3 separate regions of the Homo sapiens genome follow, and all the other regions are linked to region 2. The links are contacts of gene promoters, found by promoter capture Hi-C in blood cells and fetal thymus (Javierre and others, 2016). All regions are on one chromosome and are shown on one strand. Each heading gives the region's core, a stretch centred on a gene start or on the middle of the fragment in contact. The rest is flanking DNA. Distances are from core to core; before and after follow the strand shown.

Region 1 (3,116 bases), core at 53-2,552, 710 kb before region 2:
ATTTTTCATACTTCACAGATGAGAAAACTGATGCTTTACAGAATTACTTGTTAAATTACTTGCTGTACATTACACAGATATTAAATGTGTGTGAAGTTACTGGGGCAATTTAGACGATTCGTGGCATAAAGATAACTGCTGGAAAACTTATAAACATAGGGGTGCAACAATCAGGAAGAGAATGAAATGGAAGGGCCCAGTAGCCCCCTTTTAATATGCTACAATTAGATTCTCAAGGTACAAGAGTTTGTCTATATACTTTGGAAATAAGGAGCAGGATTTTATGATCTTGAAAAATCTTTCAGTTTTCTTATTCTCTAACGACAGATCTATTTTATTTGGCAATGCTAAAAATTATCCTTTATTAGGGTGGCCAATGACTAAGCCAGCAACTGGGAAGCAGCTTACACCACTGGGCCTCTGTAGCACTCACTTCCCCATCTGTTAAGACAGCCATGGCCATTTACCAGTGGAATTTCTACTGTCTTCCCGCTGGCTCCTTTCTGATGTAGCAGTCCTTATCCCTTTTTCTCCAGCAGCCTACATGTTTAGAAAAGCAGCCTCAATTGGCTAAAAGGCCTAATGCTGAAAGAACTCAAGAGAGAAGGAGCCTCAGACAAGTAGCGGCTATGTCCCAAGAGCGGAAGCTCCCCACAACGAGGAACACAAGATAATCCGTCCATCAGCCATTCTTATCCACACCACAGTCGCATCCCCCTCAAAGCTCTCCCAGGGTGCCAGAAATTCTCGCTCTGTCTAGTGTCCCGACTTTCCAAGCGCTTGTAGCCATACCCTCTCCAAATGATGCCACTTGACCTCCCACCGTGATGCAGGCCAAAATTCCTCCTACAAATAAATCCACCAACACCTCCAACGGACTCCATACTTGGGGTATTTTCCTTTCCCTGCTTTCTAAATATCGTAAATCCCCTCTCTGGTCTTGGAAGTCCTTTCTCCCTCACACCTTTCGGAACTCCGTGACTCTCCGCTCTCATGCCTCCGCCTCCATTCTACCCTTAGGGCTCCTCAGCCAGATCTTTGGCTAGAACCATGGTCAAGGGAGAATGCGATTCCGGCTCCTGTCACAGACGCTTAAGTGTGAGCGCAACCCAGCCCGCCTCCTCCTCCACGCCCCTCACACTCACGTGTCGTGGGAAACTGGAGTAGCCAAAGCTCAGAATCCCCAGTGAATACCCTTCTGGGGATGGGAGACGGGGCCAGCTAGGGGCCGGCCGCAGACCCCGGTCCCAGAGCTAGTTTCAGAGGCCAGCGTTCCCCCTAGCGCCTCGCTGTGCCCCACTCTGGGAACCGGAAACAGGAAGCGCCAAGAGGCCGCTGGGCAACCGCTCCTCCCACCAGACCCCGCGGCATGTGACCATAGAACCATTTCGCCCCTTTCCCCTTCCCGGGCTCCCTGATAATCTTAAACTCTGATTGGCCAGTATTCTGGGACTTTAGCTCCGCCCTCGTTCCATCAGCTCCAATCACTATCGAGGTTGTCGTTTCGCCTTTTCTGGTTGCCTTTCTTTCAATGGGGTCCCAGAGTCCCGCTTCCAGGGCCTCTCGGCTCGCGCACCCCGGTCACGCGGGGTCACGCGCCTGACCGCTCCCGGGTAGGGTTCGAGTGAAGAGGGTGAGAGGGGCAGGTGGCGGAAGCGGAAGTTACGCAGGCAGCTCGCCCTCGGGCTCCGCGGGAGTTGTAGTTCTCACGCTAGGTCTCCTCCGGGCGCTTCCCTAGCCCGTTCGCCGCCTGAGAGGGACGCTGTTCCGCCGCGTGGAAGCTTCGAGTCTCGACTCCACTGTTGACCCCTAGACGAGAGTAGTGCAGCGACGGGGCCGTGATGTGCGTCCTGGCTTTCTTAACGACACCTCTCCTCTGTATTTCCTTTTTCCAGTTGAGTACCTTGGGGTGAATTATTATTGTTACTGTTATCTCTGTCGTTCCTTACTGCTTCGTGGTATTTTGCTTGATAAGCATGCTCTGCAACCACCTCTGTTCGCCAGAGGTTACTTCTGCAAAGTAGGAAGAAACGAGCAATACGATGGTAATCTTTGCGCCTTTGCTAAGATCTTTTGTAGGTTCCTTATGTCTTACTAGCCACTTGTTGAAGTCCTGCTCATTCTTAAACTCTGTTCAGATGTTATTTTTCCTGTAACTTCGTGCATTCACTCTCTTCAGAATTAACAATTTCTTCCTGTGGACCCTCGCTTGTGGCTTGTACCTGGCTTTAGCATGTTTTCATTCCGCTTCCACTCTTACGTTGCTTCTATGTGTGCCTCTCTGGCTCTATGCAGGTGCCTGGATTTTTGATTCTTACCCCTCTCATTAGAACTACTACAGTGTTTTGAGTCTAATAATAATAAAAGCTAACGGATGCATATCTCGGTGGTGCCCGGCACTTTTGTAAGTGCTTTAAACGATAGTTAATTCACTTGGTCTTCACACCAACCTTATGAGGAAGTATCTTATCCCAAGTTTACAGATGAGTAAATTAAAGCAGATAGAAGCTAAGTAACACCGTGGGTCCCAAGCTATTAAGTTATGGAGCCAGTATTTAAATAGTCTCCATAATCCATGCTCTCAAGCACTACGCTTTACCGACTGTATGCCATTCTGCATTTCTTTGTTTATTAGTAATACATTCAGTTCAGGCTAGGTAGTAATCATATCTGGGTTGGATGTTGCCCCAATAAAAAAAAAAATTAAATTTTTTTCTTCCTGAAAATGAAAGTAATTTGTGATCAGATAACACAGAAAACAACAAAACAAAAATCATACATAAACTCACCAGGAGGGTGTGTATTTCCTTCATGAATATATGTTGTTTCCTTTTTTCAAAAATGTATCAGTCCCACACTGTGGCTCATGCCCGTAATCCCAGCACTTTGGGATTCCGGGGCAGAAGGATCACTTGAGGTCAGGAATTCAAGACTAGCCTGGGCAACATAGTGAGACCCCTTCTTTCAAAAAAAAAAATCAGCTGGGCTTGGTGGTGCACACCTGTAGTCCCAGCTGCTTGGGAGCCTGAGGCTGGAAGATTGCTTGAGCCTGGGAGTTGGAGGCTGCAGTGAGCTATGGTCTTGCCACTACCCTCCAGCCTTGGTGATAGAGTGAG
Region 2 (2,952 bases), core at 12-2,511:
GGAGGAACTGGTAAGAGATATTTTTGGATCATGTTTTCTGTTAAATACTTAGCCCCCTGAGGCAGGTCGGCTACATAGGGTTAAAGCTGAAATACTAAGAAGGATCCCATTCCAGGGGCATGAGATGTGTTTTCATGTCTAACATTTGTTGAGGGTGTGTTCTCTGCCTGGAACCCTGTGAGACATTTTAGATATATTTCCCCATGTAATGCTCATGGTGAGCTGGTAAGATGAGATGTATTGTTCTCATTCTATTAAGAAGTAAGGTAATTATATAATTTGTCATCTAGATTAAGACATATAGGGCATTAAAAGTGATCATTAATACATTGGTGGAATGACAAGCATAAACTGAGAATTTCCCAATGAAACTGGGATTTATGCTCACTTTAAATAAAGTAATTTAGGATCAGAGACGTTAAATGACTTAAACTGAGAACTGGGAATTAGTCTCACTCCAGAATTTATGCTGCTTAATTATACCACGCTGCCAGTGAAAAAGAGAAGGGATAGGGAAGAGAGACTCCAGAGTAATATGAAAGAAAGGGGCTCATGGTGTTAGTTTCTGTTTTATTATAGAATTTCCTGAAAAGATACAAAGGCCCTTCTGACCATTGGATTGGCCTTAGAAGAGAATCATCCCATCGCATTTGGAAATGGACAGACAACATGGAATATAATAACATGTATGTTTTGAGACTTCTCATCTTTTGCTGTGTTTATGTATGGTTATGTGTGTGAGTTGTGTTTATGAGATAAGAAATGTAGTATCATGGAAAACTTACTGCAATATGAGGTAAGAAATCTAAACCCTTTTTATGCTCTTCAGTTGGTTAGCTGTGTCTTTGGGAAAGCTTTACCTGTGATTTCAGTTGAAGTCTTTAATGTGACAGTGACATTTCTCACAATTTTACACTTTCATCCACTGATTTAAAACTGCTGAAATCCCTACTTATAGCTGATGTGCAACAAAGGTTCTACAATCATAGGAAGCCACTGAGGAGCTGATATCCACAAGGCTGTTAAGCCCACTCTTGCAGGTGTTGCATCCATTTACAATAGGAAAGCATCCAGGGAACTCATGGGAATCTCTCCCTCCTAAAGCTTTATCACCAGAAGGAAACTAGTAACAGTTCCTTGGACTGTGAACATTTCAAAGGGGTATTTTGAATATAATCATTACATTGCAGCAGATAAAATGTAGGAACCCAGTCATATCCATTAATCAAAGCTAAGCCCTTTCAGGAATTTACTAGTTTTTTTTTTTTTTTTAGTTTTCACACATTTACAAAACAATTTGGGAGGAGGCTGGAAATCATCTTGACTGAAGACCACCAATGGCAGCAGTTCATTTGGGTACAGCAGCAAGCATCAGTTAAATACCTATCAACATAGCTGGGCTTGGTATGGATGAATGATAAGCTTGTGATTTTCAAGCAAGGACCTTGAGGACATAAAGGACACTAAATACAGAAATGGTTTATATTACTATGAAGCAATATTAATGACAGACTTTTGCTTTTCTCTTATTCACATTGAAATATGGAGGGGTTGCAGAAGATGATGGGGAGGAACAAATGCAGGTGTCTAACTTACAAATATTTAATATTTTTGTGTTTGGATTTAGGCTTGCTATCAGAGGAAGTGGAGAATGTGCCTTCCTGAATGACAATGGAGTCAACAGTGGCAGAATCTACATGAACAGAAAATGGATTTGTAGCAAGCCAAACAATTATGTCTACAGTTGCCAGTTATGTCCCCACTGGGATACTACCTAGTAGAGCTGTGAGAAGAGGGCCACCATCCTCCAGACTCCAGAATGGTGGAATCAGCAGCAGCTTCCACCATGCCCCTGGAAAAACTGCAAGTAACAGACCTGCACATGTATCCCCTACATCTAAAATAAAAGTTGGAAAAAATGGAACTTTGATGTTAAGATGCACTGATACAAAACTTAAATTTTGGTCTCCTACATTAAAACAATATGAGTCTCTTAAAATATTGATTTGTTCTTAGTAAGATTACAAGAGGCTTTGATTTTTAATTCTGCAATGTTTCCTTAACAGCCATTCTGAATTACAAACTAATTCCTATTTCTGCCACATTCCTTCCTGAGAACTGTCTAGTCCTGGTTTGGGATTTATCTTAAAGGTCTAGAAAGGCAACATTTTACTTCAGCAAAACTTGATTCTATATTGTTGTTTTTTCTTAATGTGTCAAAATTGTTTTGTTACTAGGATTTCCTATGTTGTTATTAAATGTATTCCCCTGATCAAGGTCACTGGCCTAGAAAACAAAGATTCTGTGTTTTACCAAGATAATTCCCAGTGCTTCATGGTGTCTTTATTAGGCTTTGACTGCTTAGGGAAACTGAGCCTTAAAAGGGTAAAAGTTTTTCCATCCATGTAACTTTCTGAGGTCTTTAGGTTGTCACTCTGATTAAATGAGTAGTATTCTTAGCAGTGACTTATTATCTGTTGAAGGAAGTATTTTAAGCTTTTTGACATCTTTGGCAGGTTTCTCTAGAATCCAAATCCTAAATTAAGCCTTTTGGCCTAAAAATGACTGGGATTTTTCCAGGTGGACCCCCTAGATATGCTCCTCCAAAGGCTTGTCTTTCTTGTAGAGTTATTAAATGATTAGGCTTATTTGGCAAATACTGCTAGAAGCATTGTCAAATAAGAAATGGTGTTTTACCTTTCTTTAAGCTGTGTTTGTGTAAGTTCATCATTTATAGAAATGTGAAATTTTATGAGATTCCTAAGATACTGACATGCTGAGATACCTGTAATAATTGCAATTTTTATGTTGGATGATTGTATGCCACAGAAGCACTTAAATTTCCTGGTTAATTGGTAACGTTAATCAGATCTTTACCTATGGCTGTTCTGGGTTTTTGTCATTCACAGTTATTATTTTAATTTCTTCTTTGGAAGCGTTCGCAATCAGCTA
Region 3 (3,108 bases), core at 511-3,010, 730 kb after region 2:
TTACCAACTGTGAATAAGTTATAAATTTATAAACACCTTTAGGATAAAAAGTGCTTTAACATACATGTCAGTTGATTTGAATATTACACAAATCTAAGATAAATATGGAATGTTTCATGCCTGTATTTGATAGAAAAAGAAACTAAACTAAACTACACAGAGGTTGCAAATTGACCCTTCAAATCTAGAGAGCGGTAAAAGTTTGAGTAAAATTCAAGTCTGACTCCACATCTATTTCACTATTTCAAGCTGTCCCAAGTTGTGAGCGACTTTACCATAATATAGTTAATAAAATAAAGGGAAAAAAGTTTTTAAGTTTTGGAAGACTTGATTTAAAATACAATATGAACATAACATGAAATCAACATAAATAGAACATGAAAAGAATCAGAGTAAATTGCTTGCCTATGCCTTATATGCTTGTATGAAATTCTTGGTATCTTAAAATTGTATAAAAACAAAACTACACACTTATGTGGTAAAAACATACCCCAGCTGTGTCGAGACCTCCGACCACGAATCCACCCCATCAAATACTTATAAGTGCACGTCTACCGCAGAGAGGAATCTAAAGTCTTCAATGCACAAAGGATTCCTGAATAAAATAAAACTGGGCATTTGTTTTTTGTTCTCTTTCCCGTGGTGAGATAAAATATTTTGAATAGAAAAGTAAAATGCAGAAACTTTTCCCCTGTGCATGCCTTTAAGAAAAGAATAGAAATGACAATTCACATAAAGCCAGGCAAAATTAATTTTATACATTTCTCTTGGTTGTAAAATAATCGCCAATTACTTCAAAATGTCATAACAATATAATGAACCTATTAATTCACCTACATTGAGATATTTAATACCAATATTTTACTTTACTGATATTAGATAACAACACACCCAGTTTTCTGTTTATAGTCGTTTATTGCTTCTTGGCCTTTTAGCTAAGATCAAGTGTTTCCAGTTGTTTATTTTATCTGGCAATAATTTAGTTTTCTTTCTGCAAGCTAAACTCAGGTAAGTTATATGCACTTTTGTTGAATGTCCTTTTCTAGTGCATTTTAATCCAACGTGCCCATATCATCATCATCAACAAATTATCATCACCATCATCATTAACAAAACTAATCTCACATGTTTATATAGTAACATCTTAGCAATGCACAGCAGAGCTTCCAGAAAAAACCATTTAATAAATAAGCATAGTGCTTAGATTTCAAAAATAAAAGCTATTTCATATTTGATTATGATAGTTGGAAAGCACAGATATAACTTGTTTCACCTTGCATGTAAAGATGTGTATCAAAGGTAAGTGCCCCCTACAGCATCAGAAAACTCAAAAATTTGACAATTTAAATTGAATCTCAATTCTTCTCATCCTAAATGTAAAGATTCATTTTTCTAGTTTTGCTTAGAGACAAGGCTTCTTCTTATAGTAATATTACAACTTCTGATTCTTCAATAAGTATATCCTAATTACCTATCATCAGATACAGTGATAGAATATACATCAGAAATGATAAGCATTCCGTATCCTCAGGAGTTCTATTCAAGCATCTAAGAAACAATTAGAATTACCTTATAGTGTAAATATTTTTATTTTTTTGAGGTTGAAATATAATTTCTCATATCTTGAATAATAAACACACACACATACACACATACACACACCTGCTCAGAGAGGGAAGATCTTGATTCTTGTGGATAAAAGCCTTCTATAAAACTAGAAAATTTAGATATGTCCTCAGTTCCTGATCTAGAATTGAAAGTGGAGATACTTAGTGAATTTCTATCTTTGAGAAAGATGTGACAAATATTATAATCTCATCTTCCTGTGGAAAAACATAAACCACAGTACTTCCGCCTTATCACTACAAAAATATTGTTAATTTGGTAAAAGAGTTAAGACCACCCATTGTTGGATAAATGTTAGGTTGGTGCAAAAGTAATTGTAGTTTTGCCATTATTTTAAATAACATTTTAGGATTTGAAAATGATGAATTTAAATGATGCCATTTAATCCTAAATATTTTAGAGATTCAATTCAATTCCAGTTAATACCTCAGGTTTTGTTGTAGAACTTACAAAGCAGAATTCTACATGTACATTAAATTACAAAAGTCAAGACTAGGAAAGTCACAATTGAAGATGAAGAAAATGTGGGAGCCTTGTTTTACTAGATAGTAAGACCTATGTTAAAACCGTATTAATAAAGGCAAAGTGGCATGTGGGGCATAGATAGACAAATTGAGAAGGGTAAAAATACAGACAAGAAAAAGTCATGTGCATAGATTAAAAAATATAAGGTAACATTGCAGATAAAGTGGGAAATTAGCTCCTATTCAATAATTTGTCCTGGGTTACTATCACACTGGCCTTTAAGTTACAAAAAATTAGTCCTGGGAATTTTTAAATTTTAATATAAAAAACATGAAATTGCATCTCTGTCATATCTACATCATATGCAGGAGAATTAGAAACTTAAATATATACCCCAGTATACATAAGAATAATATATGAATTGATACCAATGAACAAGATAAGCTAAATATATATTTTATGTTTATTAATTTAAAATACTAACATAAGACATCATATAAAGTAATATAAGATGAACACATTATAACATTTTAACAAAAACCAAAGCTATTAATCTTAAAACTCTGAAATATAAGGAAGGAAAACAGCTTTCATGTGGTGATGTGTTAAAGTTGGACAATAAATTTATTCAACATTTTTTTTCTTTAGCGAATGCTATTTGCTATGCACTTTTCTAGATCTTGAGAATGTCAAAGTAAACAATCCAAAAGAAAGTTTTTGCCCACATGGAAATTAATTACTTTTTTTTTTTTTTTTTTTAAGAGATGGAGTTTCACTCTTGTTGTCCAGGCTGGAGTGCAACGGGGCGATCTCGGCTCACTGCAACCTCCGCCACCTGGGTTCAAGCAATTCTCCTGTCTCAGCCTCCAGAATAACTGGGATTACAGGCATGTGCCACCACACCTGGCTAATTTTTGTATTTCTAGTAGAGACGAGGTTTCACCATGTTAGTCAGGCTGGTCTCGAACTCCTGACCTCAGGTGATCCTCCTGCCTCAGCCTCCCAATGTGCTGAGAT

Evidence for each region. Contacts are between HindIII fragments. The CHiCAGO score rates a contact against its expected background, and 5 or more counts as called.
Region 1: the fragment with the promoter of M6PR here is called in contact with a fragment that was not itself captured in region 2 in 1 of 17 cell types (non-activated CD4 T cells); the score reaches 6.4 in non-activated CD4 T cells.
Region 3: a contact is called between the fragment with the promoter of KLRK1 here and a fragment that was not itself captured in region 2, in 1 of 17 cell types (naive CD8 T cells). The highest score is 7.3, in naive CD8 T cells.

The regions. Positions count from the first base shown.
Region 1 is chr12:8,948,343-8,951,458 of GRCh38, forward strand. It overlaps M6PR (mannose-6-phosphate receptor, cation dependent), which reads right to left and starts at 1,303. Exons shown (of 7, transcript NM_002355.4): 1 at 1,146-1,303. It also overlaps a transcript of KLRG1 not described here. RefSeq lists enhancers at 567-1,472, 1,473-2,377, 1,876-2,005 and a silencer at 1,683-1,897. The HindIII fragment of the contact is 9,162 bases long and covers 1-1,779 here.
Region 2 is chr12:9,655,294-9,658,245 of GRCh38, forward strand. It overlaps the pseudogene LOC374443. Among named protein-coding and RNA genes, the nearest start is that of CLEC2D, 13 kb to the right of the region's middle. The HindIII fragment of the contact is 318 bases long and covers 1,103-1,420 here.
Region 3 is chr12:10,388,281-10,391,388 of GRCh38, forward strand. It overlaps KLRK1 (killer cell lectin like receptor K1), which reads right to left and starts at 1,761. Exons shown (of 8, transcript NM_007360.4): 1 at 1,663-1,761; 2 at 491-595. The coding sequence starts at 530. It overlaps KLRC4-KLRK1 (KLRC4-KLRK1 readthrough), which reads right to left. Exons shown (of 13, transcript NM_001199805.1): 7 at 491-595. The coding sequence starts at 530. The region is part of intron 3 of KLRK1-AS1 (KLRK1 antisense RNA 1); the gene reads left to right. The HindIII fragment of the contact is 4,388 bases long and covers 1-3,108 here.